2 separate regions of the Homo sapiens genome follow, and region 2 is linked to region 1. Evidence: promoter capture Hi-C in human tissues and cell types (Jung and others, 2019). All regions are on one chromosome and are shown on one strand. The core of a region is centred on a gene start or on the middle of the fragment in contact, and the rest is flanking DNA. Distances in the headings are between cores, read along the strand shown. Region 1 holds the start of ATOH8 (atonal bHLH transcription factor 8). Region 2 overlaps POLR1A (RNA polymerase I subunit A).

The links. The method cuts DNA at HindIII sites, captures the fragments that hold promoters and counts their contacts. A contact is called where the count stands out against the background at its distance.
Region 2: a contact is called between a fragment that was not itself captured here and the fragment with the promoter of ATOH8 in region 1, in 3 of the 25 tissues and cell types used here (IMR-90 fibroblasts, dorsolateral prefrontal cortex and hippocampus).

The regions. Positions count from the first base shown.
Region 1 is chr2:85,750,665-85,757,012 of GRCh38, forward strand. It overlaps ATOH8 (atonal bHLH transcription factor 8), which reads left to right and starts at 3,327. Exons shown (of 3, transcript NM_032827.7): 1 at 3,327-4,293. The coding sequence starts at 3,526. RefSeq lists a silencer at 1-216. The HindIII fragment of the contact is 12,393 bases long and covers 1-5,080 here.
Region 2 is chr2:86,037,179-86,043,526 of GRCh38, forward strand. POLR1A (RNA polymerase I subunit A) reads right to left here. Exons shown (of 34, transcript NM_015425.6): 23 at 5,796-6,017; 24 at 4,711-4,925; 25 at 3,214-3,381; 26 at 2,149-2,284; 27 at 1,522-1,679. Among named protein-coding and RNA genes, the nearest start is that of POLR1A, 66 kb to the right of the region's middle. RefSeq lists an enhancer at 2,149-2,279. The HindIII fragment of the contact is 4,889 bases long and covers 12-4,900 here.

The DNA of each region.
Region 1 (6,348 bases), core at 2,077-4,576:
CCCAATAGTGTGATACCACCAGGGGGTGCTGCCCAGCTGGTCTCTGCCCCAATTCTCAGCAAGGCTGAGGAAGGCAGAAGTGAGAGCCCTTGGAAGACAGGTTTGACCCCTAGGCTGGTGGGGCGTGGGCAGCCAGCCTGGACCTGGAAGGTCTGCAACCTGGCAGGCTGACAATGGCAATAGCAGGGACTCCACATCAATCGGCCTCTTTACAATTTGTCGCCTGTTCCCACACACACCATTCCATCTCAAGACTCAAGAGATGATGCCCAGATAGTGAACAGAGGCTCAGAGAAGTCAGGGAGCTGCTCAAGGTCACACACCTGGTACGTGACAAGGTGAAGATCCCTCTGGGCTTGCCTGTTGCCAACTCTGGGGCCCTGGCATTTGGCCAGCGGGAGAGGCAGCATGTTGAGGAGAAAGAGCCTGTCTGGAAGCCTGTAGCCCGGCTTGGAGCCCTGCTCTACCTCCACCCTGCATGGCTGATCATTCCTATCCAATCCCTTCGCCTCCTCCTGCCCCATGGGATCTCGGTGACCTTCTCCTCTATTTGGGGGGAAGTTGGCACGGGGCTTAGGATCAGTATGAGTGGATCCTTTGGTATTCAGCCAAGATGTGATTTTCCCAGACACAGCTTGGCCTCTTTAAGGACAAAATTCAGTCCTGCTAGAGACTTCTCACACAACCTCACCAGCCACGGGCACCCCAGTCTTCAGCTACACCCAAGTCTGGGATGCAAGGGGGCCTTAGCAGCTGGCTGACCCAGGATGCCCAAGGTCACCATTCCCTAGACTCTAGGCATCATGCCACATGCTGCACATGCTGCGTCTTTGAGTCCTTGCAGCCGTGTGAGGCACGGTATCATTACTCCCGTTTTACAGAGGAAGCTACTGAAGCTCAGAGAGTACCTGAGCAGCCCTGGAGAAGGAGTGTCACTTTTCCTCCATCTCTGCCACTGACTGGCTGGATGCACAGGAGGACTGGGTCTCCAGACAGGAGTGTAAAGGGCACGAGGGTTGCTTGTCCTTATCAGAGGTTTCCTGAGCACCAGCCTTTAGAGACAGGGAGGAAGGCAAGAGTGCGCCTTTGAGGAACGCACAAGCCCAGGAGTTCCAACAGGGCTGCAGTGGAGGCTAAGTTGCAGCAGGACTTTTGAGCAAGCATGCACACAGGCCAGCAAGAGCAATTGGAGGCTATGGTGAGCAGGGAAGGTTCGCGGGAGGAGGGGGACCGGAGCTGTTCATCGAAGGGTGAGGAAGAGTGTGCGTTGCAAAGGGGAGCCGTGGGAGACCTGGGAGCAAAGGCCAGAACTTTAGGGTTCGAGGCTGAGCAGGGAAACGACAGGAGAATGAGGGCTCCTCTTTGGCAGCACACACCTGGTCTCCAGGACAGAGATAAGGTGCAGGAATATGCAGGTGTCCAGGGAAGACGATGTCTCCGGGAGCACATGCTTTATGATGCTGGCACCCACCTTGGTGGCAAAATGAGATTTTGCATTTACTATATTCAGAAAACTGCATGCCTCAGTGTGTGTGTGTGTGTGTGTCTATGTTTGAAGTCTTATGTCAAAGTCCTTTGACATCCATCTCTTTGTCCTTTCCCAGCTACCCTGAGAAGGTTGGCTGGAAATATCCTCAAAGACAGAAAAGAGTGACGGTGGGAGGAAACGTCTTGCTCGTGGTCATGGGGTTCCGTCGTTGACAAACCAAGGCTCAACCGGGGCTGCTGGCTGGAGCTCCATGCTCCTGCCCCCAAAGCTATGCCCAGATCCCCATCCCACCTCCCAGCACCCTGCGTGCCATCTGCCTCCTCCACCCCTAGGCATTCTCCCATGGAGGAGAGAAGCACTCCACTCTGTGTGAGCCCTTGTGTTTTCATCAGAGTTCAAGGCCAGGGTCAAGGGTCCATCTTCTCCCAAACCACCTTGCTGGCTTTTAGTGTCCACCTTCCTTAAGGAGTAACAGTCACAGAGAAGGGACCAGCAAGGAGTGAAGCCCTGTTCTGAGCCTCGGAAGGGAGCGGCTGGGAAGCAGTCCTCTGGCAAGGACATCTGAGGGCCTACTAGTTTGACCCCTTCTTTCCAGAATCTCCAGTGGAATGGCACTGATGACTGAGGGTCTGGGGGGTCTACCTCTGCCCCTTGCCAATAACCGTGGGCACCTGCAAAGCTCTCACCTGGTGCCAGGCACTGCTCTGAGTGCCTTGCGCATACACGCTTTTCACACCGCCTGGGGAGGAAGGTACGATTATGACCCTCGTTTTACAGGTGAGGAAAGGGAGGCACAGAGAGGTTAAGTGACTTTCCCAAGGTCATTCAGTGAGTGGCAGAGCTGGGGTTTGAGCCCAGGAAATCTGCCTCAAGTAGCTGTTTTGCCTCAATAAATAATACTAACAACAACCACAGCTACCATTTGACGACCCGTTCCTATGTGCCTAGTGCTTTAATTCCTCAGAGCAATGCTGTGACTTAGGCGTTGTTCTCCGAATTTCTCATTTCACAGATGAGTAAATCCCGGTTTAGCAGGGCGCCTGGAGTGAGGTGACTGCGGAGGCTCGCAGACGTTAGGTCTGCCTAAATCCGAAGCTTCCACCCTCCTCTGCCTCTGTGACTTGCTGCGTGACTTTGGAGCTTTCGGAAACTCAGTTTCCCTGTCTTAAGCCCTCTGCTCCTCTTGCTTTCCCGCTCCAGCAAGTGAGAGTGGACTGGGTTGCCGTGCCGGGCGGGTGTGGGTCGCCGGGCAACTCCGGAGTCTCCCCTTCCCCATCGGCCCCCAGCAGAAGTCCCAGCTCCCGGCGTTTTCTGTCTCGTGGCGAGTTGGGGCGGAGGGAGCGGCGGGAAGGTGCCGGGTGGGCAAGGTCGGAGCTGCGTCACCGAGAGGCCGGCAAGGCCAGGGAGAAAAGGCCCCGCTGTGATTTGGGGAAGGGCCGGGGGCCCATAAGTCACGTGCTCGGGGCGGTTGTGCAGGAGCGGACTGTCCTCTGGGAACATAGAAGCGCCCCCGACTAGAGTAGGGGCGGGGAGGGAGCGCCGGAGGAGGCAGGTTCTGGGCCAAGGGGATGGGGGTGGGGGGGAGGTAGGGAGCCCGCGGACAAAGGAGGCGGCCGGCGGCCCAGCTGTTTTGAAAAATGCTTCCTGTTTCTTTAAAGGCGCTCGCGGCTCGGGCGGCCCGGGCTGGGGAGGCGGTGGCGGCGGGAGCTGCCTCCTCTCCGGGCGGCGGCGCTGACTGATCTCGCGAACTGGGCTTCTGTGTAAACTGAGGCTAAACAAACACAGATGGAGCGCAGCGGGCGTTCTCCAGAAATGCTGGCAAGGAGGCAGCGACTTCAGATGACACTCTGAGCGCTCCGGGAACGGACAGCCCGGCGGCTTCCCGAAGCCGGCGGCGCAGCTGCCCGGGGCGAGGGGGAGAAAGGGAGAGAGGGAGGGGGAGGGCGGGCGAAGCGGGAGAGCCAGAGACTCCTCGGCGCTGAGCGCGGCGGCGGCCCGGGCAGCCCCACGCCCCTGCCTCGCGCGCCGCCCGCGCCATGAAGCACATCCCGGTCCTCGAGGACGGGCCGTGGAAGACCGTGTGCGTGAAGGAGCTGAACGGCCTTAAGAAGCTCAAGCGGAAAGGCAAGGAGCCGGCGCGGCGCGCGAACGGCTATAAAACTTTCCGACTGGACTTGGAAGCGCCCGAGCCCCGCGCCGTAGCCACCAACGGGCTGCGGGACAGGACCCATCGGCTGCAGCCGGTCCCGGTACCGGTGCCGGTGCCAGTCCCAGTGGCGCCGGCCGTTCCCCCAAGAGGGGGCACGGACACAGCCGGGGAGCGCGGGGGCTCTCGGGCGCCCGAGGTCTCCGACGCGCGGAAACGCTGCTTCGCCCTAGGCGCAGTGGGGCCAGGACTCCCCACGCCGCCGCCGCCGCCGCCTCCTGCGCCCCAGAGCCAGGCACCTGGGGGCCCAGAGGCACAGCCTTTCCGGGAGCCGGGTCTGCGTCCTCGCATCTTGCTGTGCGCACCGCCCGCGCGCCCCGCGCCGTCAGCACCCCCAGCACCGCCAGCGCCCCCGGAGTCCACTGTGCGCCCTGCGCCCCCGACGCGCCCCGGGGAAAGTTCCTACTCGTCAATTTCACACGTAATTTACAATAACCACCAGGATTCCTCCGCGTCGCCTAGGAAACGACCGGGCGAAGCGACTGCCGCCTCCTCCGAGATCAAAGCCCTGCAGCAGACCCGGAGGCTCCTGGCGAACGCCAGGGAGCGGACGCGGGTGCACACCATCAGCGCAGCCTTCGAGGCGCTCAGGAAGCAGGTACCCGCTCGCCGCCGCACGCCCTCACTGCGCCGGGGGACGACTGCGGGAATGGGTGGGCGAGTGGCCGGGGCGGGATAGAGGTGTGTTTAAGGGGCAAGCTGCCCCGCCCGGTCCGACCCTGGTGCCCAGACAGGTGTGGGCAGTCCTAGGGTATGGATCATAGTTTTCAAAGTGGCTATAAGAGTTGGTTATCTCTGGCCCGAGCACCCCCCGCCCTCAACCCCCGCCTCGGGGGTAACGCTGTCTGCGCTTCTGACTTCAGCCTCCATAGTTCACTTTTATGGCAGCGAGTATTTGCCTGCCGGAGTCCCCTGGGCGCGGTGCGGAGTGGAGAGGGGAAATGTGGGAATCTGTCAGCGGAGGAAGGGGGGAGCCTTCTCCAGTTGGTGGTGGCAAGGTCCGGAACGCTGCGGTGGGACAGTCCGGGGGAGTTGTCAGCCCCTCTTCAGGCCCCAGCGGTGATGCCCCGAACACTCAGGTTGCTTCCGGGCTATGCACTCCTTGCCCTGGCATCCTCAAGAACCCGCGCTACAAGCCTGTGCCCTCTCCCCAGGGGTGGGCTCAGGAATCGGCTGGTGGGAGTCTTTCTAGCAGATCCCTTCCTTTCACCCGTGGTGAAGCAGGCAGCTCTGCCGAGGGGACTGCCTAGGTTGGGGATTCCCTCTGGAGCATCTTCAGAGCCTAGTTCTGGGGTGGGTCCGGGACTTTTTAGTTTGGGGCTGGTGCGGGCTGCCCTCACCAGACAGTGCCCCTGCGCAGGTAGCGGAAGAATACTTAACCCAAGAATTACCCGTGGTGGGGCGGGACAATCGCTTGGGCTTCTAGGCTTCTTATTTTCTTAGCGAGAAGGAGCTCTAGGAAGGAGGTGGTGAGTTCTCTCCCACCCCCACACAGGGCGTGGGGAAGGGTTAGGGTAGATGTGGCTGGTTTGAAGGGTGTTTTTTTTTTCTTTTTATTTGCATACTCTGCAGCTGACTTGCTGTGTGACTCCAGGAATGTTGCTCAACTTCTCTGGGCTTTATCCAGCAACAAAACATTTCAGAAACCATGATCTTCTTTTTGGATCACTCTCCTCTTCCTGCTGGGGGTTGGGGTGGGGTGGGGCAGTAGTGCCTGTGTCCATCCATGGAAAGGAAATTGAATCCTTGGAGGAAAGAGGCCCTATGACTTTTGAGCCAAAGTGTCTTGCTTGGGCTTGGGGAAAGTGGTCAGTGAGGTGGGGTGGGGGTGGGGGTGGGGGACGGGTGGCTGTCACAGACCAGGCTGGGCCTCTGCCCTCATCCACACCAGCTGGAACCCTGGGCGGTGGGTCCAGTGGAGCAGTCAGTCCCACCCTGAGCCAGCAGCTCTGTGTCTGCATCGCTGGGTAGAGGTGGCGGTGCGTGGGGGATCCTGCAACCCACTCCCCAGGACAGAAGGATAACAGAAGGGCAGAGAGATGCCTGTCCACCTGCCCACCTTGCCACTAGGGAAGCCCCTCCTAGACTGGGGAGGCACGTGCCCAGAGCCTCATAGCTGTTGAGTAGCAGGTCAGGGCTGGCACCTAGGGGCTTTGACTGCAGGTTCTGGGCCCTTGTGCTCCTCTATTGCCTCTGTATGCTGAGAGAATACTCATCTGAGTGCTTTGTTACATCTCATGTGCCCACTGACTTTTACTTCATTCAACAATCAATTCCATCTCATTTGATCTAAACATAATCCCTGTCGAAATTGGATTAACTCATTTTATAGTATGGAACACTGAGGCCCAGAGATGGAAGGAGACTTGTCCAAGGTCACCTAGTGGGTTAGGGAAGATAACAGCAGTTTCTGGAATGCCCTCCTGGCCAAATGCTTCCCACAGTGCCATCTGTATCAGCGTCATGTGCCACCCCCCCAGCCCCCAGCCTGTGATGTTTGTTAACAATCAAGGCAGGGTGCACACTTGGCAGACCCTTTGAGATGAGATTGTTCATCCTGGTCTCCTTTTACTTCCCCCCTTACCGTGGGAAGTTCTCTATAAAAAGGGCAAGTTCAGTGTATCTAAGTAGAAGGCACACCCATGCCCTCTCA
Region 2 (6,348 bases), core at 1,206-3,705, 290 kb after region 1:
GCACTCCCCTGCCACTCTGCCCAGTGCCCAGATAGCACAGAGGACCACTCGACAGAAGGAATGTTCTCAGCCCAGGCTGGCACCAACGCAGGTGCTCCTGAGGCCCAGCCAACAACAACTTCACCCAGGGCTCGTGAACTGGGGCAGGAAGCACCTGGCCAGTGACCCCCGTCCAAAGGACTGAGTTCACATCCAAGCTCCTCCACCCCAAGACCCACCATCCCAAATGCCACCTGCACAGAGGGCTGGCTCGAGGCCAGGCCCCATAAGGTGAGAGGGCAGAGGGCTGAGGGCAGAAAAGTCGTACTGTGTTGCCCACGCCTGCCCCCGTGACTCAGCGACGAATGGGCATGGCTCAGTATGTGTTTGTGGGATGGCTGAGTGCAGGGAGCTTTCTGCTTCTGCTCTGTCATTGCTTCTCTATCTGAGCAGCTCCCAGAAGACCAAGAACTGGTCTAGATTAGAGGCAGTGGTCAGTGGCCTGTGGCCAGATCCTGCAACAGATGAGAACCATCTGGGCCTTACTGGGCTTTTAAAAACACATGAATTAGTTGCTGATGTTTAAAAGTCAGGAGACCTCAATTATATAAAAGCAAAGGCAAGTAAACAAGTGACCCAAGAAAGAAAAAAACGTAGGGGGTGGGAAGCTTGTTTTCTTTCTTTTTAAATCAAAAGATGTGGCCCCCCGGGCCTCCATTCCTGCATAGTAACAGGTGCCCCTTGAGACAGGTTCCACACTCTTCAGTCTGCCGGGGGCCTCCAAGCCTGCTTCACTGGCCTGTCACCTGCTGGGCTATGCAGCCTTTTTGTGTTCACACTTCACCGTCTAGGGTTAGCTGGTGAGTCAAAAATGCTTCGTGGGCTCTTCCAGTCTTGCCCCAGTCCCCAAAAAGCCCATCCTCCTGCTCCCCGGAACTCAGCATTGTGGCCTCTGCTTTTCAAATATCTAACAGTAACTTGAACTTGAGACAAAAGTTCCTTTTCCCTACTGGACAGGAACTCGGGACAGGAACTCGAATTTCTCTGGAGGCAATCCTGGTTATAGAATGGAGATCTAACAGCAGCGTGCCACCCGCACATTGTTCATTATTCACAGAATCTAAATGCATCAGGAACCACATTATACTGCCTGCAGTAACACCCTAGCAAACATTAACAGCATGTGCTGCTCCGACACCACAGAAGCACCGCTTTGATGGTGCTCCCTTCTCTTTACCACACCCACATTTCCATGTCTTAATGCCTGCAAGCCCCAGAAGACAACAATCCTGACGTCAACCCAAGAGAAGAAATGGGCTCAGGGAGTGACGTGTGGCTAAGAAAGTCATACCCACAAGCCAGACTGTGGTCAGGTTTCCAGATCAGGCTGCAAGGCCCTCTGCTTCCTAAACACTTCCCTTGAAGGGCTCATTTGGGCAAAGGCACTCAATCTCTAGGAGCCTTGTGGCTAGGTGCTTCCTGCCCCAGTTCAAGCGCATTCTCTGGGTCAAGGTCAATGACAATCACAGCCTGAGCCCTGACCTTGTTTCCATGAAGCGCAGGATGTCCTCGGGTCTCAGGCACTTCTCCTGCTGGTAATATGCATGTGGCAGGAACTGAAACCGCAGCTGGTACACCTGGAATTTGTTCTGTTTTTCTTCCATACAGAAGGACTCCTGGACGTCAATTTTCTGCAACACCTGGAACCAGACGGACAGAGAGAACTTGACTTGTTCAGGTCCTAGGTGACTGCGCAATGTGAGTGGGTTACGAGACCCAAGGGTTTACAGAGATAGCAGCTGAGACCACAGGCCAAACCCCAAAGAAACCCTGGTGAGCTATACTGGTGTGGATCTGCTGGGGGGCCCACAGCCTGCAGTCACCTCCAGAGAGTGGCCTGAACCTCCTAGGAGTGGCCTCAGCAGAGCGGGTAGGCAAACTCAGGAAATGGTTTATTTTTCAGGCACAGGAGGATGCTGTGGAACTAATGACTCTCTTAAAAGCTTCCTGATCCATCTCTGCTCAGCACCTGGCAGAGACAGCTTATCTCTCATTGGTGGGAATCTGAGCCTAGGGTCAGAGCAGTAAGCAAAGCCTGTTCTTCACACATGGGGAGGATATAGGAACATGCCTTCACCCCGTCTGCAACCTGGGAAGGAGAGACGTTACCTCCCCCAAGCACACCCTGGTGAGTTGCTTCTTCAGGCTTTTCACTCTCTTCAGGGCTTTCTTGGTGTTGAGCACGGGCACGCTCATCATGGGTGTCTTGATGTTGGCGCTGGCCACCATGAGAATCTCCCGCAACCTGTCACAGAATAAGGGCACATCCAATCATGAGTGGCAACCAGACCTTCTGTTTGGGTGCAGCTTCTCCTAATGATGTCAGAGTTCTTTTGGAATCTGAGAGAGGCCTGGGGATCTCACAGGGATAATATGCTAGATCAGAGAATCCCAGCTCTGGCCTCGTGTGCAACAGTAAGGGACTCCCCTGTCAGTTTCCTCCCTGGAGGGCCCACTCCTTGTGCTCAGGGCTTTGTCTGATTCTTGTTTCCTATCACCTGTGCCTTGCAAACAACAGGTGCCTGCTGACGCTTACTGAATGAACAAGCGATGCAGGGAAGGCAACTAGCACCCACAGTGCTCCTGCTGAGCTCAGCCAGCCCTCACTGCCTGGATGTATAGTGGGTCCCAGCCTCTGGCCTTCCACAGAAGGACCCCCTGAGGTTTGGAAAGTGAGGTACCTGTCCAGAGTCTTTCTGCTAGAAAAAGGCAGGGCCAGGGACTGAATGCAGATGGGTCTGACCCCACACTCATTCCCCTTGTCCAGCACATATATTTACCTGAAGGGCCAGGGCCCAGGGCCACGTGGGGGCACGTTCTATGTGAATGGCTCCCCTGGAGTTGGGCAACCAGGCACCTTGTGTGGGGCTTGTTAACAATGTACGTTCCTGAGTCCTTCCCCCAGCAGTGTGCAGTCTCACAGGCATCCCCAGGAACGTGGATGCAGGAGTTGGCAGAGGAATAAATGGAGATCCTACCAGGCCTGGGCACCAAAGAAACCAGCTGGGCTCTGGAAATTCTAACCCTGATCCCCACTTTAATGAGACCCTGTCCCTCTCTCACACAGACACACTCTCTCATTCACACACACTCACTCACCCCCTCTCATTAAATGGCCCCTTCTCCAGGAGAGGCTAGGACAGACCCCACCCTGTGCTCCCTTGTGCCCCACACCTTGGAATGCCCAGGGTGACGTTCATCTCGCCTCTGCCTGCAAAGTGGAAGGTGTTGAGGGTCATCTGGGTGGAGGGCTCTCCGATGCTCTGGGCAGCCAGCAGGCCCACAGCCTCGCCCGGCTCACACAGTGAGCGCTGCCACTTCAGCTGCAGCAAGGTCCTCAACCTAGAGACGGTGGTGGGGGGTCAGGGTGGGGGTTGTGGCAGGGGTCAGGAGCAGACACCACAGACTGTCAATGCTGCCCGAAACCAGAAAACTGAAACCTCTACCTCTTTCTGGACTCGTTTTTCCTAGGCAAAAGATCCCTCTAATCTTCAAATTCCCACCAGTGACCCTGAGATGTCCTCAAATTACACAGCACAGATCCCAGCTGGGTGGCTGAAGCTCTAGACATTCATGCTTGGACTCCTCATGTTTGCCCCCAGAATGTCACATATCCACTCTGGGACTGTTACCACAAGCCCCCTAAGCAGGAGAATTTCTGGGTTCATTATTCACTTTTTCCTTTATCCATTCTTTCTTCTCAATTATGACAATTTGGAGACAGTTTAAACCTCCTGCTATAAAAATTAGAAAGAGGTTCACTAGGCCATTATGGGGATGGGGGTGATGAGAGTGTTTATATTTTTAGTTAGTGCAAATGGCTGCAGACCACATCAGAAGTATTCATGCCGCACGATTCTGTAATTTACTAACCATTTTTCCTATGAAGCCTGACCCTGTTAAGAACAGCCACTAGGAGCGCTGAGCTACACTGTGTGTGTGTGTGTGTGTGTGTGTGTGTGTGTGTGTGTGTGCGCGCTGAGCTACAGTGTCTGTGTGTGTGTGTGTGTGTGCTGAGCTACAGTGTCTGTGTGTGTGTGTGTGTGTGTGCTGATCTACAGTGTCTGTGTGTGTGTGTGTGTGTCTGTCCTAGTCCAAGCTGAGGCCTTCAAATGGGAACCCAAAGCTCAAAGGTGTGTGTGTGTGTGCGCGCGCGCGCTGAGCTACAGTGTCTGTGTGTGTGTGTGTGTGTGTGTCTGTCCTAGTCCAAGCTGAGGCCTTCAAATGGGAACCCAAAGCTCAAAGGATTACTGGAGTAATCGGATCCAAGGCCTCATGAGAAGTTAAGACCTGGTGTCCCTGGGCATGAATGACCTGCCCTGGGTCACACGGTTGGCAGCAGGTGAACAGTGACCAGATTCCCTGACTCTCAGTCAGCCCCACCCACCACACCAAACCCAAGAGAGCAGACTTTCCTGCAAGCCTCCCAGCAGACCACTATCCCTATCTTGGCCCAGATGGGGGTGTCCACTCCTGCCTCCCTTGCACTTGTTCACTCCTGGGCCCTTGGGGCTTGTGCGTTGCCCCTGGCTGTCTTACTGCCCTCCCTCTAGCTGAAGTCTCAAACCCAGGAGGCAGCCCTCTTCCGGAGTGAGTAGGGCAGGGGCTAGGAGGCAGGGGCTAGGAGGCAGATTCTCCTGCACATGTTGTGCAACAAATCACTGTCAATACCTGTCGAGAGAAAGCTCTGATTTCTCATAACTCTTCTCTGTTTGAGCTGCCCACTCTTGACTGTAGTCATCAACCTTTGTTTCAAATGTTTCTGACACTGATGCAAAGTAGATGTCAGGACGCCAGACAGACAGACTGGGGTCAGGACAAGCGGCCGCCTTCTTCTGGTATTTCCTTCGGCTTTCCTCATCCAACTCATACCACATCCTCAGCATCTGAACAGAAGGATGGGTCTCAGCTATGTGGGAGGGATACCCAGTAGCATAAGAGGGATCAAAAGCATTGGCTTCCAATGAGAATAAAGGGAGACAGAAAGAAACCTGATTGCAATGAGAAACCATCTCCCCATTTAAAATGGGGAGAGACTTCAACCTGTCCTAGGGCACCCTGCTTGACTATAAGCCTAGCAGCTCTTCATCCTGGCCCATTCAAGCCCAGGGAGGGCAAGCATGTAATTTACTGAGCAAACTGGGCTTCTTTTAGAGTGAAACAGGAGACTGTTATGATTAGGCTAGGACAAGAGGCAAAGCCACGACTGTCTCAGGCCAGCTAGGATGCAGTCACTGTGCTGGATCCATGGTTATTTCTGGATCCAGGCTCTTTCACACGCTCTGTGCCCTCAAGGCTGTCCCAAAGTGACTGCTTCAAAGAGATCCCCTGCTTCCAGCTCCCAGGTGTGCTTGGCTGATGGGAGGCACCAGCAGCAGAGGGAAAGGCAGGAGGAAGGGGATCCTGGTATTTATCCTCAACCCCCCTCTAGTGGGTCTCTACCCAGGGCTCTGTCCAGTGGCCCTAGCACATAGTCGTCCTCTCCGTTTCTCATGACTGCTCCCCATTCCTTCACACCTGGGATCGCGGGGAACCCCGAAGTCACAGGCCCCAGTTAGTCCCCCCAAACCCTGCCTACACCCTTGTTAAGAGTCCCCACCTTACATTCCCATTTGAGAGCCATTCTGTTCTGACTGACGGTGAACAAAGCTGGAGTTCATGATTCTACCTTCTCTTAGGAAAACAGCCCCTCATCCCTCACCCACTGACTAAGCCTGGACGTGCTGGACATTAAGGACACCACCTCCCTGCATCACCTCCTGAGTCCCAGGGCTGCGGCCATTGCGGTTTTCACTCTCAAGTTTCAGGGCTTTCACAGCTTCCTGAATTTTCTGGGAATAACTCAAGAAGGCGCCTCTTCTCAGCAGGGTGTTGGGGTGCTTGCTTTGCCATTTTTTGATAGCTCTGAAGTGGTGGAGAGCTTTTTTGGGATCTGCTCTGGATAAAACTTCATGGAGATGCTGTGATTTCATTATCACCTAAACAAACAAACAAAAAAACAAACAAACAAATCACACACATGAGATCAAAGAGATGAGGGCGTGACAAGAGGGCCATGGAGCACAAATTCAGGGGACCCAGGTGGCTGGTGTGGAGCCCTCATGATGGGGCCGAGCACCACTCTCAGAGAGGCTGAGCATCCATTGTTAATCAGGGCCCTCACTTTGTGCAAACCAGATTTGGGAACCAATGGTCTTGGGAGCAGAGGGAGACACAGGAAAGAAAGCAGCACACTCAGAGCCCCTCCAGGAGCACAAGGGAGTTTCTGGGAAGAAAGGAAGAGGGGAAGAGTGATGGCCAAGCTCAGGG